Linked DNA regions of Homo sapiens: all the other regions are linked to region 5. The links are contacts of gene promoters, found by promoter capture Hi-C in blood cells and fetal thymus (Javierre and others, 2016). All regions are on one chromosome and are shown on one strand. The core of a region is centred on a gene start or on the middle of the fragment in contact, and the rest is flanking DNA. Distances in the headings are between cores, read along the strand shown. Region 1 overlaps CHD1 (chromodomain helicase DNA binding protein 1). Region 2 holds the start of GPR150 (G protein-coupled receptor 150). Region 3 overlaps CHD1 (chromodomain helicase DNA binding protein 1). Region 4 has its middle 91 kb from the start of CHD1. Region 5 holds the start of LIX1 (limb and CNS expressed 1).

Region 1 (3,680 bases), core at 315-2,814, 1.7 Mb after region 5:
CTAATGATAAGTTTGTAATTGCCTTAACTGAAAAATTAATTTTGAAAAACGTGAGTCATTAGAACTTCAAAATAATATGCTTTATTTCTTCCTTTTTTTTTTCAAAACTAGCCAATAACACCATAAAAATTCAGCACATTCATTTTGCAATTATTGAATAACAAAAATCTTACAATGGAGAAAATAAATCACTCACTGCTTTCTTTCTTCTGGATCAGAAGGAATGGATTTGTGCAAAGGTATTAATTCTTCTTCATGGGAGATGACTAGTTTGGCATTCACCTGTACTCCTGATATTCGGAATGTTGGACCCTTCACTTTTCCGAGTCTACCACCTTGATTTTTTTTAAAAAAACCAGTATTTTTAAAAGTATAAAACATAATTCTACAAAACACCAAGCAACTGATGCTATTACTTATGTTATTTAACAATAAGTATTCCTTATTTATATTATTAAGAGATTACTGGAAAACCTTGAACTTCATTACATATGAACAAGTGATAATAATCTTGCAGATGCAAATTCACGAAAAGTATTTCTCTAAGTGTTTTACCAATTACATAAGATGGATCAATCTACTAATACCGTCAGCCTCTAAATAAAGAATTATAGGATGATGACTCAGGGTTCACTCTGTCGCCCAGGCTGGAAGTGCAGTGGTGCAATCATTGCTCACTGCAGTCTTGACCTCCTGGGCTCAAGCAACCCTCCCACCTCAATTCACAAGTAACTGAGACTACAAGCACGCACAATCACACCCTGCTAATTTTTATGTTTTCATTTTTCTTAGAGACAGGGTCTCACAATGTTGCCCAGGCTGGTCTCAAACTCCTGGGTTCAAGCTAAACTCCCATCTCAGCCTCCAAAAGTGCTAGGATTACAGGTGTGAGCCACTATGCCTGGTCTGCTTATTAAATTTTATCTAAATAATTTTTATTCAGGTAAATGAACAGCAAAATAAGCATAATAATAAAATAATTATGTCCCAAACCAATATCATATGTGTATATTTGCATTATATTTTCCCAGTCATCTATACTAAAAAACCTATAGATACTATACATATTGTACTGTGTGTGTGTATATATACACATATATCTATGAATGTACATATGTGTGTGTATAAAACAGTAATTTCTGACCTTACCTCCCAGACAGAAAATGTCAGGGGAATTAAAAACAGATTCTACTGCCTTCGAATTGCAATTCTGTTCTCCATTTCCTATTACCCAGAATAGCTTTACTTTGTTTTATAAATAACCTTTTGAGACTGATGAATAAATAATTTAAGATATAATATCTAGCTCAATAAAGCATATTTTGAAGCTTTCATTTACTTCTCTTTTAAATCACTCTCAGTTTAATGTTACCTGTTCGTTCTGTTCCTGAAGAACTATCCTTTAATGCTTTAATGCAACCATTATGTACCAATTCTCCCAGTCGTCTAAGGTCTGTTTCTGACTTATCAACTAACTCAGCATCTCGAGCAATTGCATCTAATCTGTAACAAAATAATCCAATTTTCAGGTAAATATGTTAAATGAAGTGGTGCCATTTAAGATTAAGTTTCACTCTATTTCAAGATCTGAATATCACTCTACTGCATGCTCTATATATTCTTGTTCACATAAATGGCAGGAAACACATAAAAACCAGGACAATGTGGTAGACAAACAATTCATTTATATATTCAATAATAATGAGTTTAATTCATTATAGAGCAAATGGAAGATTATATACCAATTCTGTAAAACCTTTTAATAACTGATCAAATTTTAAGATGTTCAGAATGAAGTGGTAAAGCTTTATAATTGTAAACACAAAAGCTGAGTAAAGTTCTGTAACTTTTTATTACTGTGCACCAAATAGATATGAATGATTAATACTCAAGACATTTTTTCATCTAAAATAATTATGCAAGTATTTCATTATATTTTAAGTATGCCATCTCAAAATAAAACAAAATATATCTATTTTTGAAGGGATTTTTTAAGAGTAAAAAAATAAACTAATTTGAGTCTTTGCTGATCTATATTCAGACAGTGGGTTGGCCACAACAAAGGGCAAAGAATATCCAAATCACAATAATTACTGAGATTATCTGATAACTTCAAAAAAACTATCTTAATTTGAATTTTAATACAGTTTGTATAATAAGAGAATGAATTTGAGAAACTTAAGAAAATATCTCTACTTAGGGAAAGCAGAGCTGGTTAAAAGGCTGGGTTAGCCTTTGGGAGGCTGAGGCAGGCGGATCACCTGAATTCAGGAGTTCTAGACCAACCTGGCCAATATGGTGAAACCCCGTCTCTACTAAAAAAAAAAAAAAAAAAAAAAAAATTAGCTGGGTGTGGTGGCATGCGCCTGTAGTCCCAGCTGCTCGAGAGGCTGAAGCAGGAGGATCACATGAACCCATGAGGTGGAGGTTACAGTGAGCCAAGATCGCGCCACTGCACTCCAGCCTGGGAGACAGTGAGAGACTCCATTTAAAAAGAAAAAAAAAAAAGGCTGGGTTAGCAACTCAGCCCCTCTATGGATAAATCTGCTCGTGCTACTTTTAAGTTATTGATGAAAAATGAGATAAAGATTGTAAAAAGTGCCTTACCGTCATAAAAGTGCAATTTAAACATGTATAGATAATTTACAGGAAAGAAATTTGAGACTGGAAATTAAACACAGTATAAAAACATTTTTAAAAACAATCTGAAATTTCCCTTGTACATTAATTTTGTAAATGCCGATTAAAAGCAAATTTAACAAAGTAGCTAAACTGAATGTTAATACAAATAAATAAAGGTGACAGCATGTAACACATTCCATTATTCTATGAGAATAATAAACGTATTTACCTTTCCAGAGGACCACCAAATTTCTTATAGCTCTTGATAAACCTAAGAGAAAATAATTGTTTGGTAAATGTGAGCTTCAGTATTCACTAAAATTATACGTATTTCTGATATTTACAGATATAAGAAAATACTTGTTAGTATAAAAATTCAAGGCACTGTTATCTAAGAAGAATGAATAAACTATGCTAAAAACAAAAATGTTAAAACATTAAGATACACCAGGTAAGACAAGGTAAATTAACATCCAAGATGATGTTTAGATATCAGTATAAATAAAACAATAGAAGCTAAATTTTGTTTTAAAAATTACTTCATTATTTTCATAAGACCAAAAGAAGGTCTGAAGCTACCACAGGAAGTGTCTCCACAATAATTATCAATTATATTACACTTCCTCACATTCCAAGTGCTGATAAAAATTCACTGAATAGCTTTAATTCAGATGTGTATTACACCAACAATGCAAAATTAAAATTTTACTTAAGAAAGCTACGTAAGTGGTTAATAAATGAGGAAAAATATCCAGGTAAAGTAGAAGTCGAAATGCTTCCTCAACTAAAGACGAAAAGTACAGCAATTCAGGTGGTCATGAAAGTGCCTTTTAAAAAGACTAACAATGTATTAAATTTTCTGGTAGAAAGAATAAGGAAGAATTTTGTCAGGTCTAAGATTTTAAAAGAAAAAAGTTACAATGGCTTCAAAGAAACTTTCAAAATACAAAACTGAATAAGATTTTAATAAATGTCATATCCAAAACTATTACATAAACAAAAGTAAGCTGTTATCCCATTCCTCTTAAATAAATGTGTATATATAAACATATTCTGAA
Region 2 (3,770 bases), core at 985-3,484, 1.5 Mb before region 5:
TAAGTCAATGCCAGAAGAAAGAGCAAATAGAGTCTAAATTGGTTCCCTCTAGAAAGAGGGGATAAAGAAGTGGAGATGTATAGGACAGGGAACTCTTTATGTTATCAGCCTTCTAGTTCCATTTGACTTTCAAAACTATGTGCATTGTATAATTTTAATAAGAATTAGTTTAGGCCAGGCCCAGTGGCTCATGCCTGTAATCCCAACACTTTGGGAGGCCAAGGTGGGCAGATTCTTGAGCCCAGGAGTTTAAAACTAGCCTGGGCAACATGGCGAAACTTAGCCTCTACAAAAAATACAAAACTTAGCTGGGTGTGGTGGTGTCTGCCTACAGTCCCAGCTAGTTGGGAGGCTGAGGTGAGAGAATCACCTGAGCCCAGGAAGTCGAGGCTGCAGTGAGCTATGATCATGCCACTTCACTCCAGCCTGGGCAACAGAGTGAGACCCTGTCTCAAAAAGGGAAAAAAAAAAAAAAAAAAGAATTTGTTGAAAATCAATGTTTTATCAGATCTTACTAAAGTTCTGTGAAATTTCACTATAGTCATTTTGAAATGCTAATATATAAGAGCATTTCAACAAATTTGAGACAAATGATAGACTATCTTGAGAAACACTGAAATGATACTGGCTAGGAAAATCACTGAATGATGAACATTGCTCAGAGAAGGCTCCCTGGAAGAAGTGCATTATAAACTGGGATGATGTGTGTGCATAGAAAAAGGCCTTGGATAAAAAGTTCTAAAGGGAGAGTATGAAAATCAAACCAGGATTTTAGATTTTCCAAGGCTATCACTCTAGCTTTCTTAAATGTCCCACCAGGAACACTTATTCCTATGTCTCCACAGAGCTTCCTTGGGCTCCTCTGGACAATACTGGCATAGTATAAAAGGAATTTTTTCTTAGGTGATGGATTTATAGTCAAGGCAGGCATTTATGCTCGAAGGTATCTGAAAAGCATCGTATATCCACTAATTCATCAACTCAACACATACCCACTGATAACTACAACCTGTCAGACCAGAGCGAGGCACCACAGAGATGATGATGAAAATAACCAAGGTTTCTGGCCAAAGGACAACAGCTTGGGAAATGGGATTCCTACAGCAGCTGGCAGGACTATCATGGAACCCACCAAATCTTCCTAGGCCATGAATCTTAAAGTTCCAAATGTTTCCTCAGATTGGGAATGTGAACCCTAGACAACACTCATACCTCCCTGGCCCCCAGGCCAGGAAGTACAGGAAATTCTACTTTCACCATGATTAACGTGGAGGGTGCATAAAAAGACAAATGGATGCTTCCAACAGGGAAACTAAAATGTGTTTGTGAGGAGACAAGGCTAAAATGAAAGCAGCAACATTTAATCTAAACCATTTCCTGTGACTTGGATTTCTTTTTTAAAAAAATTGGCCGCCTTATCACTTTCTTAGTCACCTTTTCTCTAGGCTTATTGGAGGCGTAGCCCCTCCTAGCAACTTCCCATCTGCTGGAAAACAGAATCAAGAGAATGAGGAGTGTGATGACGCATCCTTCACTGGATGAAAATATTAGGAGAAAAGCAATAAATGCACTACCATTTGCATAAAACCTATTAATGCCCTCTTCAGACTAATGAAATGAATTTTACATCACCAAGAAAGCAGCTGTGACCCACTGCTCCTAGTATTTGGAACGATCTGCAACACTGCCACTCCTAAAAGCAACATCATTGACTTTAGTACCCTCTAATTAAAATACTTTCATTCTTGGACAGAGAAGACACATCTTGATCAAAATTCAGCTAATAGGTCTCCTCTTTGCTCAAAACGCTGTTAGGTTTCTTGTGTTCCTGTTTTTCTCATGCTCGTGCAGATCCATGGCATTTCAAACCTTTAAAATAAAAACTAATGTCTTTTCTATTTTTTTCCTACTGGCAATCACATTGGGGTGGTGGGGGCGTGTGGTACAATCTCAGTCAAGAGGTCCTCTCTTGTGTGGGTGCTGGCATAACACTGGCCGTATACAATGGCCAAGCAAAGCGACATTCTGTCCTGCTGTGCTTTACACGTAAATAGAGAATGGATGAGGTTCTCAGCGCCCAGGGGTCCGCGGCTTCCGCGAGGGTAGCGTCGGGGGCCGCTGCAGAGATTGGAAGAGTACCCGCCGGGAATGGGAGGGAAGACGCGGGGAAGGTGGAGAATAGGAATCATGTGTGTTCCTCGAGTGTACAACCCACATTTGAGTGACAAATCACGAGGACAATCGACAAAAACAACTAAGCGCAAAGCCGCCCGAATCCATCTCCCTCTCTGTGCGTGTGCCTTTTCAACTAACTTTGGGAACTCGTATAGACCCAGCGTCGCTCCCCGCGCCGCCTCGCCTCCACTTTGGTTTCCCGCGTCCTGCCCGCCCTCTTCGGTGCCTCCTCTTCCTCCGGGACAAGGATGGAGGATCTCTTTAGCCCCTCAATTCTGCCGCCGGCGCCCAACATTTCCGTGCCCATCTTGCTGGGCTGGGGTCTCAACCTGACCTTGGGGCAAGGAGCCCCTGCCTCTGGGCCGCCCAGCCGCCGCGTCCGCCTGGTGTTCCTGGGGGTCATCCTGGTGGTGGCGGTGGCAGGCAACACCACAGTGCTGTGCCGCCTGTGCGGCGGCGGCGGGCCCTGGGCGGGCCCCAAGCGTCGCAAGATGGACTTCCTGCTGGTGCAGCTGGCCCTGGCGGACCTGTACGCGTGCGGGGGCACGGCGCTGTCACAGCTGGCCTGGGAACTGCTGGGCGAGCCCCGCGCGGCCACGGGGGACCTGGCGTGCCGCTTCCTGCAGCTGCTGCAGGCATCCGGGCGGGGCGCCTCGGCCCACCTCGTGGTGCTCATCGCCCTCGAGCGCCGGCGCGCGGTGCGTCTTCCGCACGGCCGGCCGCTGCCCGCGCGTGCCCTCGCCGCCCTGGGCTGGCTGCTGGCACTGCTGCTGGCGCTGCCCCCGGCCTTCGTGGTGCGCGGGGACTCCCCCTCGCCGCTGCCGCCGCCGCCGCCGCCAACGTCCCTGCAGCCAGGCGCGCCCCCGGCCGCCCGCGCCTGGCCGGGGGAGCGTCGCTGCCACGGGATCTTCGCGCCCCTGCCGCGCTGGCACCTGCAGGTCTACGCGTTCTACGAGGCCGTCGCGGGCTTCGTCGCGCCTGTTACGGTCCTGGGCGTCGCTTGCGGCCACCTACTCTCCGTCTGGTGGCGGCACCGGCCGCAGGCCCCCGCGGCTGCAGCGCCCTGGTCGGCGAGCCCAGGTCGAGCCCCTGCGCCCAGCGCGCTGCCCCGCGCCAAGGTGCAGAGCCTGAAGATGAGCCTGCTGCTGGCGCTGCTGTTCGTGGGCTGCGAGCTGCCCTACTTTGCCGCCCGGCTGGCGGCCGCGTGGTCGTCCGGGCCCGCGGGAGACTGGGAGGGAGAGGGCCTGTCGGCGGCGCTGCGCGTGGTGGCGATGGCCAACAGCGCTCTCAATCCCTTCGTCTACCTCTTCTTCCAGGCGGGCGACTGCCGGCTCCGGCGACAGCTGCGGAAGCGGCTGGGCTCTCTGTGCTGCGCGCCGCAGGGAGGCGCGGAGGACGAGGAGGGGCCCCGGGGCCACCAGGCGCTCTACCGCCAACGCTGGCCCCACCCTCATTATCACCATGCTCGGCGGGAACCGCTGGACGAGGGCGGCTTGCGCCCACCCCCTCCGCGCCCCAGACCCCTGCCTTGCTCCTGCGAAAGTGCCTTCTAGGTGCTTGGTGGTCAGAGACGGGTCATCTGTCGCTAAGGCGCA
Region 3 (3,765 bases), core at 914-3,413, 1.7 Mb after region 5:
GAAAACAAACGGATTTACAATAACTTTTGGCCGTTTTGGATTCTGAAAAGTGTTTATACACCTACCCTTTTAAACCAGATGCATCTGAAAAAAGTGTTTCCAGAGCATGCAGTTTAGATTTTACATATCTCGCCATTTTTTAAAACTACAAACACAATATTGACTAAAAAAGGAAAAAAAAGGGAATAACATGTATCTAATAAAATATTCAGTATAAAAAGAGGACTAATGGAATTAAGTGGCCCCTTTCCCCATTTTTACATTCTAAACAATGATTCCATCAAGACAAATCATTAAAAAGTGTTATTACACTGATTTTTTTTTTTTTAATAAGAAGGCCTGAGTTGGTAGGGAAAGGAACAGTCAAAAAAAGCCTGAGAAAGGGAAGGAAGTAAGGAAAGTTCCTTTAATATTTACAATAATTTACAGCCATTTTTTTTGTAAAAAGGCATAATAGATCACAAACAGGAAATTCCTGGCTATTTTACAGATATAAGTACAGAATTTAAATATTCAAGCTTGTGATGAAAAGCGGCAAGGTGGTCGCAGTGTACAATGTAAACAAGTAGCTTTGGAAATGAACAAAGTCCTTGAGTGTTTTTCTTTATTAAGAAAGAACTCTCTTTCATTCCTTCCTGAAACATGATCACAGGTCAGAGTAAAGTTCATATATAAACATAATTTAAATGGAGGTCAGTCTAAAATCACTGACTTAAAAACAGTTTTATCCAGCCTGTATGGGAGGGCAGTGTTGAGGTCCCTGTAATAGTAAACATTTTCCATTTCTTTAAAAAAGAAAACAAAAAAAAGTACTACAATTTTGTAGTACAGTGCAGCATAATCCTTAAATATAAAAATATTTTCTCTTCTGTTGGGATAATAGACCTTGCATCCTGGAAAGAAGTAACAATACTGCTACTGATAGAAGATCTGTTTATATCTTTCAAGTCATGTAAGGCAATTACTGTGTTGGTTTATGATATATGGCTAAAAGAAAAGTCCAGAAAGACGAAGTATCAGTTTTTGTTATGTTTTCCGACTACTCCAGGTATGCTCCGGTGTACTTTTGTGTTCAACTGAATGTTCAAATGGAGATCTGGAGCCATAAGGAGATCTCTGATCTAGTGGTGACCTAGGGCCACTGCTGGAAGCTCTGTGGTCCATTTGCCAGTCTGAGTGATACCTATAATCCCTGGAAGATTTATGGTGCGTATATTCAGAACTTGACCGGTGGTCTGAATGTAACCGATGATCTGAGTGAGAACGATGATCAGAATGAGATCTATCTTTTAAACTTCCTTCCAAATTTGACCTGTGATCTCTACTCCTGTGATCATCCAGTTTTCTGTGTTTCTCTCTGTCACTGTAATATCTAATAAAGAAAAATTGAGAATTTTAGACAAATCATGCAAATTAAAATGTTTCCAAATAAAAGATAACTAAAAAACATAAAAATACCTTAAAACATGTTTTTAATTGTATAGAAATTCAGTGTTGCATTATAAAACTTACTTAATTAACTCAAAAATCACTGGATATATCTCTTTGGAAAAACTATTTGATTCATAAAACTAAAGCGAACCATACAAAACCCCTAAAATAGCATCTAATTTCACATGGCTATTTTAGATAATTAGCTGCTTTTTATTTTACACATCATTTATATGACTGCATCTTAATTGTCTGGAAGCTGAAATTAAGATTATTACAACTATCTGAAATACTCCTGAGACCAGAGCCTTTTACCAACCTCTAAGCAGGAAAAAGTTTAAAAATGCTAGAATGCAGTCTATGCTGAAAAATTTTTCACTGGTTGCTGATGCCTATTAAAAGCTTCCTCAAGTTTGACTAGTTATATAGTAAGACTCGACACATGAATCATTACGAAATTTACTCCATACAAACATGTGACAGCTTGATAAAAAATAAATGTGGCAGTTTAATGAGAATTATTCTCTAAAATGAGTGCCTTTTCCAAACTGACACACACACAACTGTAACTATATTGCATAAGCCTGTGAAATATATACTATAAATCTGCCTTTTCCTTTTAATTATTTGACCCCTTCAAATAACAGCCATTCTACAACTGATGTGTTCATAGTGCTGACAGAGGTTCTCAAAGAAATTATTGTAATGAACACTAAAATACAAAGATGTCTTCTAATTTGTTTCTTCTACTTACTATAAAAGCATAAATACTATAAATCTCAGTTTTCAAGTTTACTTTTAGTAGTGATCATTAACTACCGAAAATACTTCTTTATCAATAAAGGAATAAAAAGTATTCTGATGTTATTACACTGAGGTTGCTTACTGTTCAAAGGCTTCAAAAAACAATAAACAAAAAACCTTCCTGGTTCCAATAATATTCCAGATTGCTGAGGTTAAGTTTTACCTCAATGAGATGTGTTCACATATATTAATTTTTCCCGACTTTTTAAAAATATGGAATGCAAAATTTCCTAAACCAAACCTGAATCACTATTATATCAAGCTTTTATCCCACTTATTATATTTTAAAGAGTATTTGAGCCAATATTCTTCAAAACGAACAATGAACCCCACGCAATTTATAATCATACAACTCCCTACATCACCTTACTACATATTTTGATCTCAATTTTATAATTCAAAATCCATTTTATAGAGAAATTCAGTTCTTAAAATATATACATTTTTCTTAATTATATACAACACCTTTATTTCACAAGATTTGTTTTGACTGCATGAAGATTGAATTGGCTGACAGGTCAAATACAGGAACATCATGATAAGGAGAAAAACATGCATAAGCAAAATTTCTAAAGTGACTGCCAAGTTTACCTGCTGTCTTGCTTGTAGTGATCCCAATCACGATGGTCTTTACCATTACTAAAAGAAGAATAGGGTCTTTTCCTGGAATCACTTTTTTTGTAAGAATCTCCCTGATGTCGGTCTTTATGATGATCATGGTACTGAGTTAAGTGTCTATCAGAGGAATAACTGTCCCTGCTGCTATCATCGTGATTTGTATTCTCTTTTAATCTTTCCACATCTGTTAGATAAGTACAACTTTTATTAATGACCTTAAAAATAATGTGGCAAAAAAAACTTAGTTGATAGATAACAAGAATTCGTTTCAACCCTTGCCAAAACAAAATCGGTTCCCAAATACAAGCAGTTAAAGCATTTAGAAATGGTGTATAAAAGCAGTACTAAGGATTAATTAAAAAAGGTTGCTTGATTCTGAAATGTCACAAAAACTAAAAAATATGGGACCTATTCCTTTCTCAGACTATACTTTTGTGACTCTGATACAGAAAGAATGCATTACTATTCCAAATTACATAAAAAAGAATATTTGTTCATTTTAACAGTCATTCTACAATTTCTAGAAACTGAGAAAAGGATGATTAAAAGGATAATAAACTAAAATGAACTACAGTTTAAGAGAATACATTTTACATAATAATGTAGGTATGTATCAGAATTACTGTATCTCCTTAATATAAAGGTACTTATAAATAAAAACAAGGTAAGAACCTTTTTTATCATTTGGTTTATTTAAAACAAAAATTTAAAAAAAATTTTTTTTAATTTATTTTCCCAATCAGTAAGGCTTACATACCTGGATTTCTAATCACGTGAGGATTCAAGTTGCTGTTTTGATCACTGTTTTGCTAAAATAAATGCACACGTGTTAAGAATCTTTAGGTGACTTCACAAACTTACAAAAAAGCACAGATAATTCTTAGAAAATACTGATAATGAAGTCTTCACACA
Region 4 (3,493 bases), core at 950-3,449, 1.9 Mb after region 5:
ATGTCATTGCTAACCTATTAAATATCAACAGATAAGACATATTCTCTGTTTAAAGCCTAGACTGAGGAAGAGAATATATACATACAAGGGTATGTATTGCTTTTTAAACCTCATAACCCACAGAATATAACAAATCATTAGTACTAAGAATACAAGAAATGATATAGGAGTTCAAATTTCAAGGAATAATTATTTTTACTTTTTATTCTTTTTTAAGATGTAGTCTCACTCTGTTGCCTAGGCTGGAGTGTAGTGGCTAGATCTCTGCTCACTGCTGCAACCTCTGCCTCCTGGGTTCAAGCGATTCTCCTGCCTCAGCCTCCTGAGTAGCTGGAATTACAGGCACCCACGACCACTCCCAGCTAATTTTTTTTTGTGTGTGTATTTTTTAGTAGAGACAAGGTTTCACCATGTTGGCCAGGCTGTTCTAGAATTCCTGACTTCAAGTGATCTGCCCATCTCGGCCTCCCAAAGTGCTGGGATTACAGGTGTGAGCCACCGTGCCTGGCCCAGTTTTTAAAAGAGACAGTGGCAACAGAGGAAAGTAAGATGTGACTGGGCTTCTAAAAATGAATAGAATTTTTTTTAAAGAGCAAAAAGGGGAGAAATAGAAGCAGAAGAAATAATATCAACAGAAGCTTAAAATGTGGCAGTTGTATTAGTTTCCTAAGTTTGCTGTAACAACAAAAAATACTGGAGAGCTAGGTGGCTTAAAACAGTAGAAAAGTATTATCTCACAGTTTAGAAATCAGAAATCAAGGTGTTGGCCGGGCCATGCTTCCTCCGAAAGCTTCAGAAGAATCCTTCCTTGCCTCTTCCTAGCTTCTGGGTTTGCTGGCAATCTGTGGCATTCCTTTGCTTGCAGATGCGTCACTTCAATCCTCCTTCTTCACATGATGTTCTCCCTGCCTTTACATCATCTTCCTTCTGTTCGTGTCTGTCTCTGTGTCCAAATTTCCACCTTAATGACCTCATTTTAACTTGGTTACCTCTGTGAAAACTCTATTTCCAAACATGGGAAGATTCTGAGGTATTAGGGGTTAGGACTTCAACGTACGTTTATTGCAGGATACAATTGAACCCATAATATTTTATTTTTACTTTTTTTTTTTTTTAGAGATGGGATTTTATTATCTTGGCCAGGCTGGTCTCAAAACTCCTGGCCTGAAGTGAACAGCGTGCCTTGGCTTCCCAAAGTGCTGGGATTATAGGCATGAACCACTGCACCTGGCCAGAAACTTCTTATATAGCAATGATTTGAGAGTAATAGGATTAAGTTTAGAGTGAGCTACTAGGGTGGGGCATAAAGAACTTTGAATACTAGGCTGAGGAAATTAATTTTAAAAAATACAGGTAGGTGATGAAGAGCCACTGAAAATGTTCAAGAAGTAGGACTGAACTCGTGCAACTCCCTTACTCTCTTGGCAAGCTCTCACTGAAGTAACTGGAAAGCTTTATCTTTGGTTTTGTTTGTTTTTGGTAATGAAAACGTTAACTTCACTTTTAAACAGGTAAGATATGAGGAATACATGGGAGGTAGAAAGCAAATGGTGTCAAAAAGACAGAGAAAGAACACAGGAAGCAGCAGCATGGAATGGTGGAGGGAAGCCCTGCTCTCTCTAGAAGTTCTGGGCTGAATCCATACAAAACAAAACAACACAACAACAAAAAACTGGGTCATGGAGAAATCTGCAACGTTTTATGTATAAAAGGTGCCAAAAATTTCCATGAACTGGAAAGTCTATTCAAAATTTACACTGAAGACATTGTCCAGTGACTGTAACTGTGGTGACTCATCACATAAAACCTATAATGAGCTTCCTTTTCACAGACCACATGTTGGGCACTTATCCTTGATATATGGCTTTAGTATGACATCATTCTCATTTAAGAACAACTTTATTTCTGGAAAACTGTACTCTGTACAAATTATCTGTTGCCATTTTGCATGAAATCAGTGCAAAAGCCTCTCATCATAATACTAAATGCCTTCTTAAAGTTTCTGTCAGGGGCCAGGCATGGTGGCACCTGCCTGTAGTCACAGCTACTTGGGAGGCTGAGGTGAGAGGATCACTTGAGCCCAGGAGTTCCAGGCAGCAGTGAGCTATGATCATGCCACTCCACTCCAGTCTGCATGACAGAATGAGACCCTGTTTCTATAAAGAAAAACAAAGACAAAACAAAAACTCTATCAGTGCAAATCCAACCTAATTACTTAATTATATTTCCAAAGTTTGAATTCTGGAGGCAAGCACACACTTGACAGGGCAAGGTACAGAGCTTTTATAGAGGCTTGACCCTTCTCCCACATGAAATAATCAGGATTCCTGCTCTCTGCATTCATCTCTGAAGCAGTCACAGGAAGGGGACTTTGGAAAGTCAACTAGTTTTATAACTAAATCTCATTTAGATGTAGTACTTTATATATTTTTAGTGACTGGAAATACCTTATTTTTGTCTAAAAAATTTCAGAGTATTATTATTAAGTGTTTAGAAACAGGGTCTTGCTATGTTGTCAAAACTGTATTCGAACTCCTGGTCTCAAGCAATCCTTCCTCCTCAGCCCCCCAGATAGGTGGGATTACAGGTGCATGGCACGACACTCTGCTAAACATTTCAGATTTATTAGACAAGTTACAAAATATTGAGAGAAAAATACAATAAGCAAATTTTCTGATTGTGATTAATTGCTGAGATCTTATATAAGCAGGAAAACTGCTTCATATATCTCTATTCTTTGCAATGGTAATTATTTCCCTGTAGCTAAGTTTATTACAAGAAAGGAAGACGTATTCAGATACATATTTATTTGGCTGTCTGTCAGTAGGGGAAGAAGGTAAATCTGTATGAATGATGATTTAGTCTAACTTTCATATCTGCTTTCAAATTTTAATTGAACCTGAATCTAACTGTCCTCCCTCACCTCCTCCATCCTTCCCTTCAACTGAAAGCTTGAGGATAATAAATATAACTCTCTTTGTACTCCAAAGAGATAATTTCAAATTCATGGAGAAAATGGGTTAAATGGCAGGTCAGCATGGAAGAGATTAGTACATGGCTAATACCCTATGATGGTGGGACTCAGATCCAGACCAGATGTATTTCTATAAGTAATTGTGTAGAAAAAAGTCTCAGAGACGTTTTAATAGTTGGGTTCATTTATGGCAATTTAATTATTCTCTAGGTTGGCCTGGTTAATCTAGGAGCAAATCTCTTATATGGTTCAATCTAGAGTAGATCTAATCACCCTTTATTTAAAAACTATTTCTTTTATTTTTTAGTAGAGATGAGGTCTTGCTATGTTGCCCAGGCTGCTCACTCCTAGCCCAAATGATCCTCCCTCCTCAGCCTCCCAAAGTGCTGGGATTACAGGCATGAGGCACCACACCTGGCTTTCTAATCTACTCTTAAATAGCAGGATTTGCAGAACTTTCCCTCTTAAGTAGCATACTAAATGTTATTAAGAAAATAAAATCTAAAGTGGTGTTTTTTT
Region 5 (3,479 bases), core at 527-3,026:
AGCAGTCCATTCTAGGGTAAACAGGCAATGCTCTCTGGTCAAATATAGGTTCTATGTTAATGAATGAAATATATAAAACAGGACACTTATTTGTTCTCCCATATAAAAGAAGTCCTGCAAAGTCCTGGATGACAGAACTTAATGTATGCTTTATTGTAATCCTTTTTCTAGTCTATCTTCTTTTCTAAACTGTAAACAATCGCAGCAATTTAGTTCAGCTAAAAAATGAGCTATACAGTTTCACATTTGAACTTATTAAGTTTTCAATGGGCCAGTGAAAAACGTCCCCCCTATTTTTTTTTTAACTGCTTCCCCTATTTAAATGCTCAGCATAAGAACCCTGGTCCTATACAATTTATCCAAAGCTTGGGCAGCCCGAGAGCCCTTTTATCCCTCACTAGTGAATCAGTTCTATTGTAGGAGAGAGACATTCTTTCCTCCCCTTTTCGCTTAAAAAACATAACAAACCTGAATAGACTCCAGGCTAGAGTAGTGGAGAGAGTGATTTTTATTAGATCTAACATAGTTATTGGCAAATGCCTAAAGACAATATTTAAAAAGAGAGCTAGAGAAAGAAAAGGCTTTCACTTTATGCCTTAAAGGACAGATTGGTTACAATTTAACATCTAAGAGGAAAAATTTATAGAATTAAATGGCCTAACATTCCTCTTTCTTCAACATACATATGAGAAATCTAAGCTAAGAGGACATCTGGAATGGAACGTTATTCAGCAATCAGAAAGCAAAAATTCAAACCATTGATGTTTTGATGGAGACAAACACAACTAGATTCACAAAGAGGAAAGCTGCAACCTATTGAAGTTAAAAAAAATTCCATATGCATTTTACCTTTTGGGCAGTTCTATTTCAGAAGCCCTTTGTAATATGAAACCCACTGTAGATAAGATACAACATGAAGATAGTCTGTTTTGCAGCAGCAGGAAATCAAATTGGTTCCAGAAACGAAGTTATATGACAAATGGTTTAATAGTATTGCTAGAATTGGAAATCTTGATTGAATTATTTTTAAATCATTAAAAAAAAGATTTTGAAATAACTTTGCCATGCTGTATAAATTGGTGATGGTGGTAGGGGGTCCACACAGGGAGTGTTGCTGAGGTTAGGAGGCATCTCATTTTATTGGCCTTTTAACTAAAGCATTATAATCTGTTATCAAAATTTAAAAGTTCAGTGGTGATTTACTGTTAATTCTGGTTTGCAACAAATATTTTCAGACAAACACGATACTTGAATTAACATAGCTAATATGTGTTGTGGAGTATTAAACAGGTTAACAAATATTGATATATTCTAGTATCATTTCCAAATTATTTTTAGGTTTAATCTCAACACCAGTCAGCTTTGCTTTACTTAAAAAGCATCAGAAAAAGTTCATTAAGTCTTAGGCAGGTCTTGGATTGTAGAAGAGACTTCTAAGTAGTTAGCAAGATGTATCACTGACAGAATAACCCAGTGCCTAATGCCTGTAGGTGAAATGAAATCGTTCTTCTGGCTGAAGTCAGGAACAAGTTAAAATATCACTTAGAACACAGCATACGACTGCAGAGATTTAGGAGAAATCTTACTTAAATAGGATGTGACTTGACGTTTAGGACTATTTTCTAAAAAGTCAAAAAACTTTTCCCCCTTCAGTACTTACAGTCTTTGAAGACTAGAGCCGGATCTCTGTGAGGCAAGACTTGGGCAATGATGTGTCTCAGAGATTCCAAGGTTCTGTCCATCTTGGGTCTGCCTGTGTGAGCCTCCTGTACAGAGTGTCCTCATGCCTGAATTCTTGCAGTCCTGGGCTGAATTTCTGCAGCTCATTGATGCACTGGATTACCAAGGAATCCCTTTTAACATCTGCCAATCAGACATTTCCCAGAATCTAAAGACCCCTCAGGGGGCCCTCTTCCCAGGCTCACTTATCTTTGTTGTATGCTGAGCTAATTAGCTCGAAAGGCTGGCTGACAGGCGGGTTCCCATTGCTTTCTTCTGTTAAACACACCCACCTACAGGCTAGCTGGGGAAGCTCGCTAAATTATGAAAACAGCTTTCCTCTCCAACCAGATTTTGTCTGAATGCTGTGCAGCTTTCTGACTTGAGTATTTCTTCTGGCCCTCCATCTTCAATTGTGTTGCCCCCAGGAATATGGAATCAGGAAGGTTATTTCTCCAGGAAATTTCCTGAATGACAAGACAGCTTCCAGCTCAGGACTGCCAGCTATATGTTAACAGTATAATCCCTATAAATCTAAATTTTCAGTGTAATTCTTCTTTGGTAAAGGAGTGCTATAAAGATTATGGGGCTGGGTGCAGTTTATCATGCCTGTAATTCCAGCACTTTGGGAGGCTGAGGCGGGCAGATCGCTTGAGCCCAAGAGTTCCAGACCAGCCTGGGCAACATGGCGAAACCCTAACTCTACAAAAAATACAAAAATTAGCTGGGTGTGGTGGTGCATGCCTGTGATCCCAGCTACTTGGAGGGCTAAGGCAGGAGGATGGTTTGAGCCTGGAAAGTCGAGGCTGCAGTGAGCCCAGATTGTGCCACTGCACTCCAGCCTTGGTGACAAAGTAAGACCCTGTCTCAATTTTTTAAAAAAATCTTTCAATAACTACCTTAAGAAACATATATGTATTTTCTCGTCCTGTTTCTTTGTTTTATTTTTCTTTTTAATAGGGTCTCATACTGTCCTCCAGGCTGGAGTGCAGTGGCGTGATCATAACTCACCGCAGCCTTGACTCAAGTGAGGGGCTTGAGCCCTGGACTCAAGCAATCTTCCCATCTCAGCACCCCAAGTAGTTGGGAGGCACACGCCACCACGCCTGGCTAATTTTTAAATTTTCTGTAGAGATGGGGTCTCACTGTGTTGCCCAGGCTGGTCTCAAACTCCTGGGCTCAAGCAATCATCCTGTCTGGGCCCCCAAAGTGCTGCGATTACAGGCGTGAGCCACTGCACCCTGCCCTGAAATTTTTAATAATTATTAAGTGAAAGGAAGTGAATTACATCAGAATTAATTAAAGTCAACCTTGGGAATGATTCACTTTGAAGGGTAAATAGGGAAACAAATGTTCCCAGGCAAGCTGTAAGACAGTCTGTCAGGTTTTACTTGCCCCTGCCCAATAGAAGTGACTAAAATTTGGGAGGGTTGTGGGGGGTAACAAGCCTTGGCTTCCAGAAGAGTGGCTCCTGAATTCAAATGCAAGGCTTAATTTAGTCCCTAGCTGTATCCTTTTTTTTTTTTTTTTTTGAGACAGAGTCTCACTTTGTCATGCAGGCTGGAGTGCAATGGCATGATCCGGGCTCACTGCAGCCTTGACTTCTCAGTCTCAAACGGTCCTCCCACCTTAGGCTTTCTAGTAGCTGGGACCACAGGCCCACGCCACCGCACCTGGCTAATTTGTGTATTTTTAGTAGAGAGGGGGTTTCACCATGTTGCCCAGGGTGGTCTCAAACTCCTGGCCTCAAGTGATCCACC

Evidence for each region. The method cuts DNA at HindIII sites, captures the fragments that hold promoters and counts their contacts. A CHiCAGO score of 5 or more calls a contact.
Region 1: a contact is called between a fragment that was not itself captured here and the fragment with the promoter of LIX1 in region 5, in 2 of 17 cell types (total B cells and M1 macrophages). The highest score is 10.2, in total B cells.
Region 2: the fragment with the promoter of GPR150 here is called in contact with the fragment with the promoter of LIX1 in region 5 in 1 of 17 cell types (activated CD4 T cells); the score reaches 5.0 in activated CD4 T cells.
Region 3: a contact is called between a fragment that was not itself captured here and the fragment with the promoter of LIX1 in region 5, in 2 of 17 cell types (M2 macrophages and total B cells). The highest score is 6.8, in M2 macrophages.
Region 4: a contact is called between a fragment that was not itself captured here and the fragment with the promoter of LIX1 in region 5, in 1 of 17 cell types (M1 macrophages). The highest score is 7.6, in M1 macrophages.

What each region holds. Positions count from the first base shown.
Region 1 is chr5:98,872,221-98,875,900 of GRCh38, forward strand. It overlaps CHD1 (chromodomain helicase DNA binding protein 1), which reads right to left. Exons shown (of 36, transcript NM_001270.4): 25 at 2,852-2,893; 26 at 1,373-1,503; 27 at 197-335. Among named protein-coding and RNA genes, the nearest start is that of CHD1-DT, 55 kb to the right of the region's middle. The HindIII fragment of the contact is 477 bases long and covers 1,327-1,803 here.
Region 2 is chr5:95,617,853-95,621,622 of GRCh38, forward strand. It overlaps GPR150 (G protein-coupled receptor 150), which reads left to right and starts at 2,235. Exons shown (of 1, transcript NM_199243.3): 1 at 2,235-3,770. The coding sequence starts at 2,424. The coding sequence ends at 3,728. RefSeq lists enhancers at 1,791-2,406, 3,603-3,770 and silencers at 2,576-2,975, 3,066-3,115, 3,133-3,427, 3,136-3,585. The HindIII fragment of the contact is 5,492 bases long and covers 1-3,770 here.
Region 3 is chr5:98,855,354-98,859,118 of GRCh38, forward strand. It overlaps CHD1 (chromodomain helicase DNA binding protein 1), which reads right to left. Exons shown (of 36, transcript NM_001270.4): 34 at 3,611-3,662; 35 at 2,827-3,037; 36 at 1-1,372. The coding sequence ends at 1,027. Among named protein-coding and RNA genes, the nearest start is that of CHD1-DT, 71 kb to the right of the region's middle. The HindIII fragment of the contact is 664 bases long and covers 1,832-2,495 here.
Region 4 is chr5:99,018,584-99,022,076 of GRCh38, forward strand. No RefSeq gene overlaps it. Among named protein-coding and RNA genes, the nearest start is that of CHD1, 91 kb to the left of the region's middle. The HindIII fragment of the contact is 1,499 bases long and covers 1,451-2,949 here.
Region 5 is chr5:97,140,835-97,144,313 of GRCh38, forward strand. It overlaps LIX1 (limb and CNS expressed 1), which reads right to left and starts at 1,777. Exons shown (of 6, transcript NM_153234.5): 1 at 1,661-1,777. The coding sequence starts at 1,742. RefSeq lists an enhancer at 1,724-1,793. The HindIII fragment of the contact is 8,667 bases long and covers 364-3,479 here.